Linked DNA regions of Homo sapiens: region 1 is linked to region 2. The links are contacts of gene promoters, found by promoter capture Hi-C in human tissues and cell types (Jung and others, 2019). All regions are on one chromosome and are shown on one strand. The core of a region is centred on a gene start or on the middle of the fragment in contact, and the rest is flanking DNA. Distances in the headings are between cores, read along the strand shown.

Evidence for each region. Contacts are between HindIII fragments. The study calls those that stand out against the background at their distance.
Region 1: a contact is called between a fragment that was not itself captured here and the fragment with the promoter of C1QL3 in region 2, in 2 of the 25 tissues and cell types used here (aorta and mesendoderm cells).

Annotation. Positions count from the first base shown.
Region 1 is chr10:15,945,030-15,952,229 of GRCh38, reverse strand. No RefSeq gene overlaps it. Among named protein-coding and RNA genes, the nearest start is that of MINDY3, 88 kb to the right of the region's middle. The HindIII fragment of the contact is 5,608 bases long and covers 1,595-7,200 here.
Region 2 is chr10:16,519,385-16,526,780 of GRCh38, reverse strand. C1QL3 (complement C1q like 3) reads left to right here and starts at 4,902. Exons shown (of 2, transcript NM_001010908.2): 1 at 4,902-6,303. The coding sequence starts at 5,716. RefSeq lists silencers at 4,962-5,191, 5,462-5,681, 5,992-6,051 and enhancers at 6,351-6,851, 6,852-7,352. The HindIII fragment of the contact is 8,174 bases long and covers 1,184-7,396 here.

The DNA.
Region 1 (7,200 bases), core at 3,149-5,648, 570 kb after region 2:
ATTTCAGCTCATAAGACTTAGAAAGATGGGGAGCCAGGCAACAGCCTCTTATCTAAGAAACCAAACAAGGGGCAAAAACCAAAGCAAAGCATCGTGGTTGTTTATGCTGGTCGATGGAATGGTTAGAGTGGAAAGAAGAAGCCTAGAAATACTTCAGGGAACAAGGACATCATCGGGGCAAAAACTCTGATCCTTCCCTGAGAAAACATACCTCCCCCAAAAGAATTTGAGGTCATATTAAATTTTAGAGAAATATTTTAAAAAGTAGGTACAACTCTTCCAAAACTACATACATATGGGAGATGGTAATATGCTTTCTTATATCTGTCAAGCTATTAACGACCTTTCCATTTTCATCAAACAACCCCAAGTATACAAATAAATACTACCTCCAAACACCGGACAACCAAAATGAAACAAAATAAAATAACTAATGTAGCATGGCACCAGGAAACCATTAAGTCCAGCACATCCATTTGTTGATGTGTGATCTTGGGTATTATCTTTTCATAGGTTCTGTTTCCTTATCTATTAAAGTGGGATAAATACCTGCCATCTGGTATTGTAAGAATTCAGTAAGAGAGGTATAGGAAAGTGCTGCACTAAATCTAAACACATAGCCAAGCACAGTGGCTCATGCCTGTAATCCCAGCACTTTGGGAGGCCCGGGGCAGGTGGGTCACTTGAGGTCAAGAGTTCGAGACCAGCCTGGCCAACATGGTGAAACCTTGTTTTGACTAAAAAAAAAAATACAAAAACTAGTCAGGTGTGGTGGTGGGTGTCTGTAATCCCGGCTACTCAGAAGGCTGAGGCAGGAGAATCACTTGAACCCGGGAGGTGGAGGTTGCAGTGAGCTGAGATCACACCATTGTACTCCAGCCTGGGCAACAGAGTGAGAGTCCATCTCAAAAACAACAACAACAACAAAACTCTAAAGACATGTAAGATGTCATTTATTATTATTTTCTTACAAATCCAGAAGCTGAGAAGGGTTGGGAGACAGAAGTTGAAGTAAGAATAATACGTGGGTTAAAACTTTCTCCTCCAAAAGGAGATCCAGAGCACTGGTATTCATTCATTTATTTGTTTTCTACAGAGTAGTTGACTCTCAGAGCTCTTGTCATAATATAGAATCACTTTTCCCTTGGAAGTTATTATATATGATTTTTTACATATAGTGAGAAATTAGTCATGAGCATTTTAAAAAAAACAAGATTGAAAAATCTCAGCAACCAATTTTTGCCTCTAGATGGGTTTATATGAGAAACAAGATAGAGTTAATGACACATGAAAAGGAACCATACAACACCTAACTTCTATTCCTGGCTTTGTCACTAATTAAAATGGAACTAATCCCAGTGATAATTTTTCAATACCATTTCCTTCTCTATAATATGTGGATGATAAAATCCACTTCTTATCCCTTTAAGAATATTAAACTACCAGGTATCTGTTGAAATGATAAAGTTCTATAAGATGAGGGGGAATCCCTACATTTACAATGGAAGCAAGAGAAGAGGACTATCTGCCTCAGAGAAAGGTTGAGGAATAACTGACAGATTTAAAGCCATTTGGGCCAGATTAATGTGAGACCTTACCCAGGGCTCGAATACAGTCCTCTGCTCAACAAGAGAAATCAGAGCAGTACTTTAAGGAAATGAGCTTCTTCCAGGACATTCTGGAGGAATGTAAGTAACATCCTTTGATTTGGAGGAGTTTCATCTGACTGTGATGGTGGCAGTCCCTGTGAGGATCACACCAATGGAAATTCCTTTGATAGCCTGGAGGTCCCTGTGTCTGTAAGCAGAGCCCCGGGACTTACACAGAATTATACCCATCAGAGAGGAAACAGTGCTGCCATGAGATACTTGCATAGTGAGATAAAAGTAACATTGAGCTAATTTTTTTTTGAAAATAATTAAATGGTTATTAATTTATCCTTGCTTAGAATTTTTAGAGAATTCTCTATGTTTTAAAACAAAGCAAATAGTAAAGACACATAAATAAGAGAAAGGATAAGTCAACTACGAGCAAATGGAAGGATACTCTTTGTATTCACTAGATTTATTTGGTTGCAACAGAAGCCGAATCTGGCTAACTCAAGGAAAGGGAAGAAGAGAAGTTTTCAGAAGAAGAGTCTCTGGGAGTTTCTCTGGTTGGAAGGAAGGGCCGAAGGACCAGGTAGAGGCAGACAAGATCAGGTCATGACAAAAGGTCTCCCAAGAAGACACTGTTTGGCAGTCCTACCCAGACTCCACTTGAGAAGTCTGAAAGAACTCTAAACATTGAGTTTTGTTTCTAGTGTCCACAGCTCAAGATTTAAAAGTCCCAGGAATCTGACTAGTCAAGTGGAGATCATATATATGCTTTCTCATGGCAGAACTCAGTCCGTTAGAGGAAGAATCTAACAGAAGAATCTCCAAGGACATGTTTGGATCCTGTTATGTGAGTGCTGACACTTGAATGTATTATCACATTAAGGCTGCACAGCACCTGGCGAAAAACTTTTCCGGAAGAAAGCTGGGATGCTGTGTGAAGTGGAAATGGACACAGAAGCTAAGAAATGACAAATGTTTATTACAGTTTCTAAGCATGAAAGCAAAGAGAGGAGGTGAGGATGCAGATATGGATAGATGCATGTGTCTGTATCCAAAATTATACTAAAGAACATTCATATATAGTTGGTCCTATTCACAAAAACTACGGTGAAGACCATTCCTTGTAGTATCTTCAGAATAGCAAAAGACTGGGAGGATGGTAAGGAATTCATATAGAAGTAAACAGGTCAAAGGAATTGTAGTATATATAATAGAACACCGTGATCTATTCTTTAAAGGCAGTATGTTTGCACGTGCTGATAATGAGTATACTCCAGGATACATTGGAAAGTATTAAACTGTAGAACGGAGTACATGCGTAATCTACCTCTGTAAAAGGACTTGTAAGAGAGAGGGAGGTGCAAATTTTATGCATGCACAAATGGAGTAATGGAGTTTGATTTTGGGATTAGGAAAGGTGGCCAGGAGTTTGGAAGATATAAAGAAAAAAACTTAGGTTTTCTCTATTTTTTGCACTCTTTGGTTTTTTAAAAAATGTGTACCTATCACCCTTCACATAAAAATTTGGTTATTGAAAAATTGTTAACATTTTTCCCAAAGATTACTCTTCTAAGAAGTTATCCTAATGAAATAAATTGAGCTAGAGGGAAATGTATACATTCAAGGATATTCATTTCATTATTATTTATAAAATAAGAAATTGATTAAATGAACGAGAAATTATAAAGAATTATCTGAAATTATCTAAAAGTAACTATAGCTATGAAAACATTTAAAATCATGCTCTAGAAGTATACTTGAAATGTGGAGATTAAAAAGAGATTTTTAAAACAATGTACACACATACAGAAAAATAGATATATATATACACATATATATATATACATATACACACACACATGTGTGAAACAATAGGCCACAACATACTTACTGGATGACAAGATTATGGGTGATTTTAATTTTCTTTTTTACACATTTTTGTGTTACCCAGATTTTCTGCAATAAACGTATTACTTTGTCAGAAAAACAGTCACTTAAAAGGCACACTAAAATATTAATTAGAAGATGATTTTTTAATGTGGAGAATTTAAAACTTTTATTTTTACAACTCAATACTAGATTAAATTATGGGTTTCTCTTGAATTTATTAGCAAGCTTAAATCTGTGCTAACTAAATTTTTGGCCCTTCTTTTTTTTTTTTTTTTTTTTTTTTGAGACGGAGTCTCGCTCTGTCGCCCAGGCTGGAGTGCAGTGGCGGGATCTCGGCTCACTGCAAGCTCCGCCTCCCGGGTTCACGCCATTCTCCTGCCTCAGCCTCCCAAGTAGCTGGGACTACAGGCGCCCGCCACTACACCCGGCTAATTTTTTGTATTTTTAGTAGAGACAGGGTTTCACCGTTTTAGCCGGGATGGTCTCGATCTCCTGACCTCGTGATCCGCCCGCCTCGGCCTCCCAAAGTGCTGGGATTACAGGCGTGAGCCACCGCGCCTGGCCAATTTTTGGCCCTTCTTAACGTTATTGTAAATATTAACGCTTACATTTCAAAGAGTGCCTATAGGAAAAGTTAAGTATTGTGGGAGGTATATTAAAGCCTTTCTCCTGTCTTAAAGAAATCACGGAACCTCTGGGAAATACAAAAACAATCATTATTTTTTAAGGTAGACATTGATACCATAACCCAGATTTTAAAAATTTGGCCCACTCACATGACCTTTTCAAAAGGAGACATATATGTGGCCAGCAAGCATATGAAATAATACTCAACATTATTAGTCATTAGAGAAATACAAGTCAAAACCACAGTAAGATACCATCTCACACCAGTCAGAATGGCCATTTTTAAAAAATCAAAAAATAACACATGTTGGCAAGGCTGCGGAGGAAAGGGAACATGTATACACTGCTGGTGGGAGCATGCATTAGTTCAGCCAGCGTGGAAAGCAGTGTGGCAATTCCTCACAGAGCTCAAAACAGAATAACTATTCAACCCAGCAATCCCATTATTGGGTATATGCCCAAAGGTATATAAATTTTTCTGTCATAAAGACACATGCATGCTTATGTGTGCATTGTAGCACTATTCACTATAGCAAAGACATGAATCTAAATGTCCATCAGTAGACTGGATTAAGAAAATGTAGTACATATACACCACAGAATACTATGCAGCCTTAAAAAAGAATGAGAGCATGTCCTTTGCAGGGACATAGATGGAGCTGGAGGCCATTATCCTTAGCAAACTAACACAGGGACAGAAAACCAAATACCACATCTTCTCACTTACAAGTGGGAGCTAAATGATGAGAACACTTGGACACAGAAACGGGAAAAACACACACTGGGGTCTACTTGAGGGTGGAAGGTAAGAAGAGGGAGAAGAGCATTAGAAAAAATAACCATTCGGTACTATGCTTAGTACCTGGATGACCAATTAATCTGTACATCAAATCCCTGTGACACAAGTTTACCCATAAAACAAACCATCACATGTACCTAGACCCTAAAATAAAAATTAAAAGAAAAAAAATTGGATCACTCAATGACAGATTTATCTCAGTGTCAAATCTGAAACACAGATGCATTCAAAAAGTCATGAAAAGCAATGTATGTTTCACTGAACACTGAAGACAATGAAACATGAATTACACTATACAACACATGGTACAATTTCTTCCCCAAATGCTCTTTGAGCATATCTTCCTCTCCTCAAATGTCTGCACCAACTCTCTCCTCTCCTAGGCATCTTTATAGAGTTCTGGCTTCTCCACGCCAGGATCTCTGCCTAAGCTCCTCCAATCTTTTCTTTCCTTTCAGATCATCCGTCTCCTATCAGTTCCAGAAATATCCATCCCATTTCTATATGCAGATAATTTTTGGTCTTGTAGGAGGAGTCTCTCTGTTCTTTTCTACACTTTTCCTCTCAGTCAGCACCACAGTTTACTCATCTGTAAAAATGTGGATTTTTTTTTTTTTTTTTTGAGATGGAGTCTCACTCTGTCACTCAGGCTGGTGTACAATGTTGAGATCTCAGCTCATTGCAACCTCCACCTCCCATGTTCAAGCAATTCTCCTGCCTCAGCCTCGTGAGTAGCTGGGATTACAGGTGCCTGCCACCACAGCTGGCTAATTTTTGTAGTTTTAGAAGAGACGGGGTTTCATCATGTTGGTCAGACTGGTCTCAAACTCCTGACCTCAGGTGATCCACCCACCTCGGCCTCCCAAAGTGCTGGGATTACAGGCATGAGCCACCGCGCCTGGCCAAAAATGTGGATATTAATACCAGTCTCTGATAGGTTAACTAAGACAACTATAGGACAATACCTGTCATATGGTTTATATGCAATACATATTCACTCAGTTCTTCAACTTTAACAGTTATGTTGAAGCTCTGTCAGCTTCTTCTCAATAATTTTTAGTCAAAATATAAGATGGTGCATTAAAAGCATTTCTACATCATTCTTCTCTGTGAATCCAACGTGCAAACAATAATAAGAACAGCAAATAAAATTCTAACTTCAATAGAAATAGGAAATAGCCACAACACTAACCCACAACTCTGAAGAGTAGCTATCAGACGGTATAATTTTAAGTGAGGAAAATGTTGTATAGTCATAAACTTTCAATATCACATGTATCTTGCTTGGAAAAGTCTTTTATTAGAAATGGTATTGCCCTGAAGAGAAATTCTTTTTCCTCCAGAAAGACATTGGGAAATAAGAATGAACTGTGTTCAACATTGCAAAATACCAGAAAAGGTAAGATTGAGAGAAAAATTTCACACGTGTTTCATATGAAAGAAACATGTACAAAATCCTTAAATAAGGCATGATGCACAAATTTAATACCAAGCCAAGATGCCATGCACATTTAAAAACAATAGAAAAAGAAATCTACATATTTATAGCCAATTGATCTTCAACAAAGCTGTCAAGAACATACACTGAGGAAGGACACACTATTCAATAAATTGTGCTGGGGAAATTGGATAACCATATGCAGAAGAATGACCCCTACTGCCCACCGTATACAAAAATCAACTTGAGATGGATTAAAGACTTAACTGTAAGACCTGAAACTATAAAACTACTAAAAGAAAACATAGAGAAGACTCTTTGAGACACTGATCTAGGCAAAGATATTTATGCCCAAGACCTCAAAAGCATGGGCAACAAAACCAGAAATAAACAAATAGCACTTAATTAAACTAAAAGGATTCTACACAGCAAAAGAAACAATCAACAGAGTGAAGAGAAGGTGGTGTTTGCATAATTTATTCTTTATGATCTACACAATGAACTGCATGCATTCATAGAGCAATAAGAGGATGTATTTCATGTGCCTTGTTTTTAACTGAATAATAATTGGAAGTATTAATAAATAAAACTAATTTAAATGGTAAACACAAAAAAGCATGCAAAGGATCTGAGTAGACATTTCTCCAAAAAAAAAGATATACGAATGGCCACTAAGCTCATGAAAATATGCTCAACATCATTAGCCGTCAGAGACATTTAAATCAAACCCACAGTGAGATCCCACCTCACATCTACTAGGATGATTATAATTAAAAGAGAGAGAGAGAATGATTGTTGGGCAGAGTACGTTAAAGTCAGAACCTTCATACACTTGATAGGAATGCAAA
Region 2 (7,396 bases), core at 3,653-6,152:
TATGATGAGTTATCATGGCTATAGCTTAGGAGGACTTGCTAAGCTCTCAGATCTCATTCTTGGTAACTTTTCCTTTAATTCTACATCAAGTAAGGTCATACGGATTGAACATTCTATGTATGGCAGGTATAAAGTGTCACATCCATACTTGAGATTTCATCCTTTTCTTGACTGATATAGTTAGAATTTTGGACCAACATGAAGCCATACGTTGTACATTGAGTCTTCTGTAATGTGCTGGTAACCATCTCCATTTAGCGGTTCAATAATTTTTGACAATACACCTGCCAAGCTAGCTTTCCAACTTGCCTTCTATAGAGAGTTTCGTGTTGAAAATTCCCTAGAGATGTGGCTATGACTTAGGTGTCTTTCAGAGTGACTGCTCTTCTGGTTCATGTACAAAGTGGGGCCGGGCTCAGTGGCTCACTCTTGTAATCCCAACACTTAGGGAGGCCAAGGCAGTTGGATAATTTGAGGCCAGGAGTTCGAGACCAGACTGGGCAACATTGTGAAACCCTGTCTCTACTTAAAAAAAAATTTATATATATATACAAAAATTAGCTGGTATGGGGTGCATGCCTGTAATCCCAGCTATTTAGGAGACTGAGGCATGAGAATCCCTTGAACCTGGGAGGCAGAGGTTGCAGTGAGCCGAGATCATGCTACTGCACTCCATCCTGAGTGATGGAGTGGGACCCTGTCTCAAAAAAAAAAAAAAAAACAAAAAAAAACCAACTCCCAAAACAACAAACAAACAACAAAACAAAGCAGCCCTCTCTGGCATGTTTGCTTTTTTGAGAATTGTTATCCACAGAAACAGTTCCTGAATATCGACCTCAATAATTTTTAAGTACATTTGCAACTTGTTGACTTGCGGAATTCCTAGAGGACAAAAAGCATGTGTTAATACATCCTACTAGGTCTTACATCTGAAAACTTGGGCTATCAAAGCACAATGAATTCAAATGACCTTGATATAAAACTTTGTCTTCTTACTTTGGAGAAGAGTCATGTGATCCTTGTTTTGAGTTTTGAGTTTTGTTTTGCTTGATATTACAGGAGAGTACACCTTGGCAACTCTCCTGGAGAATTTTGGTGTTCCCCTCAGTTTTATCTAAGTCTAACATACTTACCGTTCATTTTATGCCATTTGTCTTAAGTCAGGCCCTTTGGTTTCAGCTTCCTTTACTAAGCCTTGCATTCTTCCATTCAATTCATAGGCATACACTACTCATTAGTCCTACAATATACTAAGTTGATAGTTGGCAGTTATTAGGCTCTTATTATAAATTGGGTACCATTGTAATTATATGCATTAACTCACTTACTCTTCACAACAACCCTATAATTTAGGTATTAGTGTTATTTCCACTTTACAGAAATGGAAATTGAGCCTCTGGGAGATTAAGAAACTTTCACAGCTCCTAAATGAGGAAGCTAGTATTCAAATTAAGACCCATCTGATTCCAAAGCCATAAGAATATACGGCTTCCCTACATAACTCCAGGCAGACTCTTTCTGGTTAGAAATGTACAGTTCTTCAGTCAAAGGAGTATATGTTCTGAAATGAAATTTGGAGACCGCAAAATTAAAGATAAATAGCAGATCTAGTCCCAATTTTTTTTTGTATTTTTTATGTCTGATTCTCTAGACAGTCCTTGGGTTTGTTAATTTATTATTATTTTTTCCTGTTCTAAGAAATGCTATTTCTGCTTAAGTGCTGCTGGATTTGGAAATCATTTTCATGACTAAATATTTGTCTGCCTGGTGAGAGCCCAGCGTAGGGCTGTGCTGTCCGTAGATACTCAATACTGATTAATGGATGGCCGTGCATGTCTGTGTGGGAGTCGTGTGCTTAGGATCTGCTCAGCTCTCTGAAAGCAACAGAAATGGTGTGGGGAAGAAGAAAATCACAGGATTGTGATCCAACCATGATCACGGCTTTCTGGATTGGACTTCATCTTCTGGAGGGTCCACAAGGTCCAGGTACAGGTGCAATGGGAGTAGGGAGCCTGGTGTTTTCTTGAGAGATGGTTGGGAGATGCTGCAGAAATGAGAGTCCAGGGCCCACTTCCAAGATTCTTATCGAATATGAGAGAAAACTTGGTTCTCTAATGAGGACTGAAGAAAATCAAATATTTTTTTAATTGACACGTTTTCTATTATTATATATATGAAGATGATGAGTAATATGCCATATCAGATGGTTTATCCAAACTGTCAGAACAAGAGCTGAAGCGTGAGTAACTTTGCAGAGAACCTTCTGGGAAATTCAAGCAGTAGAAAGTCTCAGTAACCAGCCATAAGTTCGTTTACTACCAAGTCATCCTTGAAAATTGTGGGGGAACCAAAAGGTTCCCCCAAAGTGCACAGTGAGATACTTCTGGAGGAGAGGAAGGAGACCAAGAATTTAAATTTGCTTCACTACAGAGCCAAATATCCATGTGTTGCCCAGGCTTGTGCAGTTAATAGAAAGTCTGGGGTCAGCCACGTGGCCTGGGAGGGAGTGACTTCATGATGAATGATGACTGCTGAGTGCCTTTCTAAATCTCAGCAGAGCTTTAAAATGTGAGGGCACTCACTTGCAAAATCAAATTTGCTTTGGCGTCAGAGAAAGTAGGAGGAAAGCCTCAGTTACTAGAACTAGTATGGCCAGTCTCGGGCTGGGATGGGATATATCCATATTGTGTAGAGGGGAGTACAGCAGCAAGCTCATTGAATGGCATTGATCCTCCTGGAAGCTCTCTGTTTCGGTCTCATCATCTGCATGAACAGAGAGTCCATTTCAACTCTTAATATTTTATAAGCATTGATGAGCATTTTATGAGCATTTGACTCCAATATATCTTAAGCGTTAGTCAATGGGAAAACTCCACATAGCTTGAGGTTTTGATGAGAACTTCTCTATACATCTCTACCTTTTAAAAACTCCTTTTGTGTCACCTACAGAACTCTTCATAGCAATAGAGAGGCCTTATGAAATTTGATAATCTGGTGCATCAGAGTTTTATTAATATCCTACCCCCCCAGTGCTGGCAGCAAACCTCACCATTTTGTCCTCCAAAAGGAAGGTGACTTTTAAGAAGCAATCCAGAAGGTGTGTTAGGAAAGTAAGTATTATGGCCAGGAGACAACTTATTATGTGTTTGCTCCTTAAAAATATGAAAATAAGGCAGCTCATGTGAACAAAAATATTATGGAACTATGTGTATAATTATGCCCAAGCAATAGGCGCGCATTTATAAAACCACTACCCTAAAATAAAAGTTAAGGGCTTGAGAAGTGGGAAGCCCTATTTTCCAATACCAGGAGCAGTGTGGCTCTCTCAGTAGCCAGGAGGTGGAGACCCCCACCCCGCTGAGCCACACAGCACAGCTTTTAGGGTTGATTCTCCCAGCCAAGGCCTGAAGGAGCTACTGACATTTCTCTTAAAAGAATCATTCAGTCTTTGTTTCCTTCTGTCTGCTCGTTTGACCTTATTTTGTTTTGAAACAGAGAAGAAAGAAAGAAAGAAAGAACTAAATTGGTGGGGTGGACTGGAGTAGGCTGGGGGGCGGGGAGATTGAGGCACAGGGAGGAAAGGAGAAGTCCATGCTGTGACACCCGCAGACAAGATCACAGGCTGCTGATCGTCACCCAGGATGTTACTGTTTGCTTGCTGTAGTCTTATTTGTTCCTGCTTTTCTCATTTCAGATTCTCACCCTGATGTAATAAGTCACCGTCTTCCCAGCCATCATCCTCGTATTGACAAGCAAATGTCACCCACGTTTGATTGACATCTGTTGCTCCTGAATGCAAAAGTATGATTTAGGATTCAATTCTACTTATTTATTTAAAGCCATTCTTGTGTGTCTTATGTATTTGTTGGTGGGGTAACTTGCCTGATATCTACCCTGGAGGCCTTCCAGTAATATGATAAACCATGCTGTTCCTTCTGCAGCTCACCCACTGAGAATGGGGGCTCTTCTTTCTTGTATTTCTCCTACTTCTCCCCTCCCTCAATGTATATTCGGGAAATCTGCTATGGAGCTTATAGAACTCTTTCCATATGCTAGGAAAAGACCTTGCCCAGCACTTGTGCAAAAGCTTCTTGCTTGATCTTTTGACGCCATTTTGACAAGTGGTTATTTCTTGTACATTTAGCGACTTTAAGTAAACGCAACTTCAGGGCCATTGGCGGTATCCCCCGAAAGACTGCTAGAACTGTAAGACTGTAAGCACAGTACGTATGTATGCACTCACCACGGTGCAGCATTTGTAAAAAGGACCAACCCCCTCCTCCCCCAGAGGCGGTGGACATGTTCATTTAAAATCATTCACAAATGTTCTTTGGCTTTTCAACATACCTCACTGTTCTTGGGGCAACATCTTATTCATTTACAAGGCAGAGGAGGAAAACCATCAGGTTAAAAGAAAATCACATCTACCATCTGGAAAATTCTAAAAGGCCCTCCTTCTGTTAACAGTGGCATTTTGAAAACACCTGAAGCACTGATTGTAGAGGAGCTAGCAAAGAAACTGTCAACTCAGCCACCCTCCTTTCAACCTTCACCTCCACCCTCCAACTGGGGCTGCTGGCAGTGGGGAAATCGGGGATTTAGGTGTGACCCTTGAGCTCTGAAAGCTGTCGCACAGCTGTCTCCCTTCCCCAGGTGGGTCCAGCAGGACCTGCCATCGCTTGGTTCAGCAAGGGAGTATTCAGAATCTCACTGTTCATCCATGTGCAGAGAGAGAAAAAAAGAGAGGCCGAAAAAAAAAAAAAAATCCCACATTGTCAGAGTAATGCCAAACTCTCTCTGAGTGGGATGAGCAGAGCAGATGCTGCAATGAGATGCCAAAGCGGCTCCCCTTCCTCTGTGCCTTGGGTGCCTATAAATTGCTCCGGCGCGCGTTTGTCAGCCTCCTCTTCTCCTGGCAGGTGGTACCCAGGCAGAATTCTGCCTTCAGTCTCTCTCTCGCTCCGCTCCCGGCCGTGAGGCGCTCGCCGCTGCTCGCTCGCTCCTCCGCCCCAGCTCTGAGCCTCGCCGTGCCGACCGTGCCCGCCGCCGCCGCCGCTGGGCGCACCCGGGGGACGCCCGGGCCCACGCGGGGCTTTGGGGTGCGCGTCTATTCGAGTTGTGGTGGTGGCAAAGGAGGAAGAGAGAAAGGAGGCAATAAAAAAAAAAGGCAGCGGACGGGCGAACTGAGCGAGCGAAAGAAGAGGAGGAGGAGGCAGAAAAAGGCAACTTCAGACGGAAAGTTGGTGCGAACAGGCGCAGTCTGCAAAAACGGAAAAGTCGATCGCAGGCGGCGGCGGCATAAAAGTGTGAGCTGCCCGGGCGAGCTCAGGAGGCGGCGGCTGGCTCTGCCCTCCCGGTGGCCGCGCCGGCGCCGGCTGCAGCCACAGGTGCGAAGGAGCTCGCGGGGGGCGAGGGCGCCCCGCGCACCCCTCCCCCGGCCCCCACCCCGGGCTCGGGACTTCGGCTCAAGTCACTGGGCGCCCGCGCTCCCTCCCCAGCCGCAGCCTCCGCGGGGGGAGCAGGAGTCGGCAGCAGCGGCCGGCGCACGCACGCCCAGGGGAGTTGGGGTTCGCAGGGGGTTGTTTTCGGCTCTGAAGAGGTCCCCGCCCAACCTTCAAAATTCTGTCCAAAAGCAGACAAGAGGATCGCCCCGCGCTGAGCCGGCTGGTGGGCAGCAGGAGGCGCCTGATCGCCGCCGGGGCGCTGGGGGTGGTGATGGTGCTGCTGCTGGTGATCCTCATCCCGGTGCTGGTGAGCTCGGCCGGCACGTCGGCGCACTACGAGATGCTGGGCACCTGCCGCATGGTCTGCGACCCCTACGGGGGCACCAAGGCGCCCAGCACCGCTGCCACGCCCGACCGCGGCCTCATGCAGTCCCTGCCCACCTTCATCCAGGGCCCCAAAGGCGAGGCCGGCAGGCCCGGGAAGGCGGGTCCGCGCGGGCCCCCCGGAGAGCCCGGGCCACCCGGCCCCATGGGGCCCCCGGGCGAGAAGGGCGAGCCGGGCCGCCAAGGCCTGCCGGGCCCGCCCGGGGCGCCCGGCCTGAACGCGGCCGGGGCCATCAGCGCCGCCACCTACAGCACGGTGCCCAAGATCGCCTTCTACGCCGGCCTCAAGCGGCAGCATGAAGGCTACGAGGTGCTCAAGTTCGACGACGTGGTCACCAACCTCGGAAACCACTACGACCCCACCACCGGCAAGTTCACCTGCTCCATCCCGGGCATCTACTTCTTCACCTACCACGTCCTGATGCGCGGAGGGGACGGCACCAGCATGTGGGCTGATCTCTGCAAAAACAACCAGGTGAGCGCGGGCGGGCGGCGGGGAGGGCGGGGAGGGAGCGCGGGAAGGTGCGGGCGAGAGGGAGGAGACCCCGGAAATGGGGGTGGGAGCCCGCGGAGGAAGGGCGCGGCGGCCGGGCTCCCTGGAGCGACGGCAAGGGGGGACGCCGTCCCACCCTGGAGAGGCGGGGGTCGTGCGCGCAGGAGGGCGCCCCGCGGCCTGGAGAGGGCAGTTCCGGAGTCTGGGACCCTCGATCGGTGCGCGCCCCTGCGAGCGCGACCCTCGAGGGGCGGGAAGCCGGGAGCTGGGTCCCGGGGACAGCTCGTGCGCTGGGGAGTCCCGGCGCGGGAAGCGACCCCTGGCCGTGGGATCCTCCGCAACAGAGGGTAGCTTACGGGCTTTCTGGGGAGTGGAGAGGCCTGGGGGAGTCCGGAATGGGCGTGGCAGGGTGACCGACTCGGGGGTGGTAGACAAAGGCCGGAGGGAGAAACAAGGGCCCCGAAGGAATGAGTCCAAGCAGGGCTCAGCCACAGCGGAGGAGCGACCGTGGGGCTCGCCGTCGCCGAGTCCTTGCGGTGTCCCAGGCCGTGAAACTCACATATAGTCAATTTCAAGGCGCAAACTCCAGTTTCGTCTTCAGCCAAAAAATAGCGGAGGGGAGAGGCAAGGAGTGCTGATAACAAAAAGAATAGTTGAGATTCGGGGGTTCATGCGGTGAAACACAGCGCGCAGCCAGACTCAGAACCCAAACTCTCTATGGAGTCGGAGGACGCTCAGGCAGGTGGCCTGGGGGGCGACCGGTTCGAGCCCAGCCCCGGGTCTATCGGCCTCTGGACCAGCCGGCCAAGAGGATTTGATTCCCTGAGCCGGTCGGCGCCGCTACAAGGGCTACGCATGGGTCTGCAGTATTCTGCTGGGGCCACTTTACTGTGGAGAAATTCGAGGTCATTGCAAAACCGAAGCTTGTTTGATCTCTTAGTCAAAGGAGGAAAATAATATTTGTAACTACCTAAAAGTGTAATGGGACCTTCTGTGCACGCTGAATCAGTAGCCACTGAGGCGAGGCCTTGCAGCCTGCAGCCTGCGGTGTGGGCTGAGTTTCTCGGTTTTAACT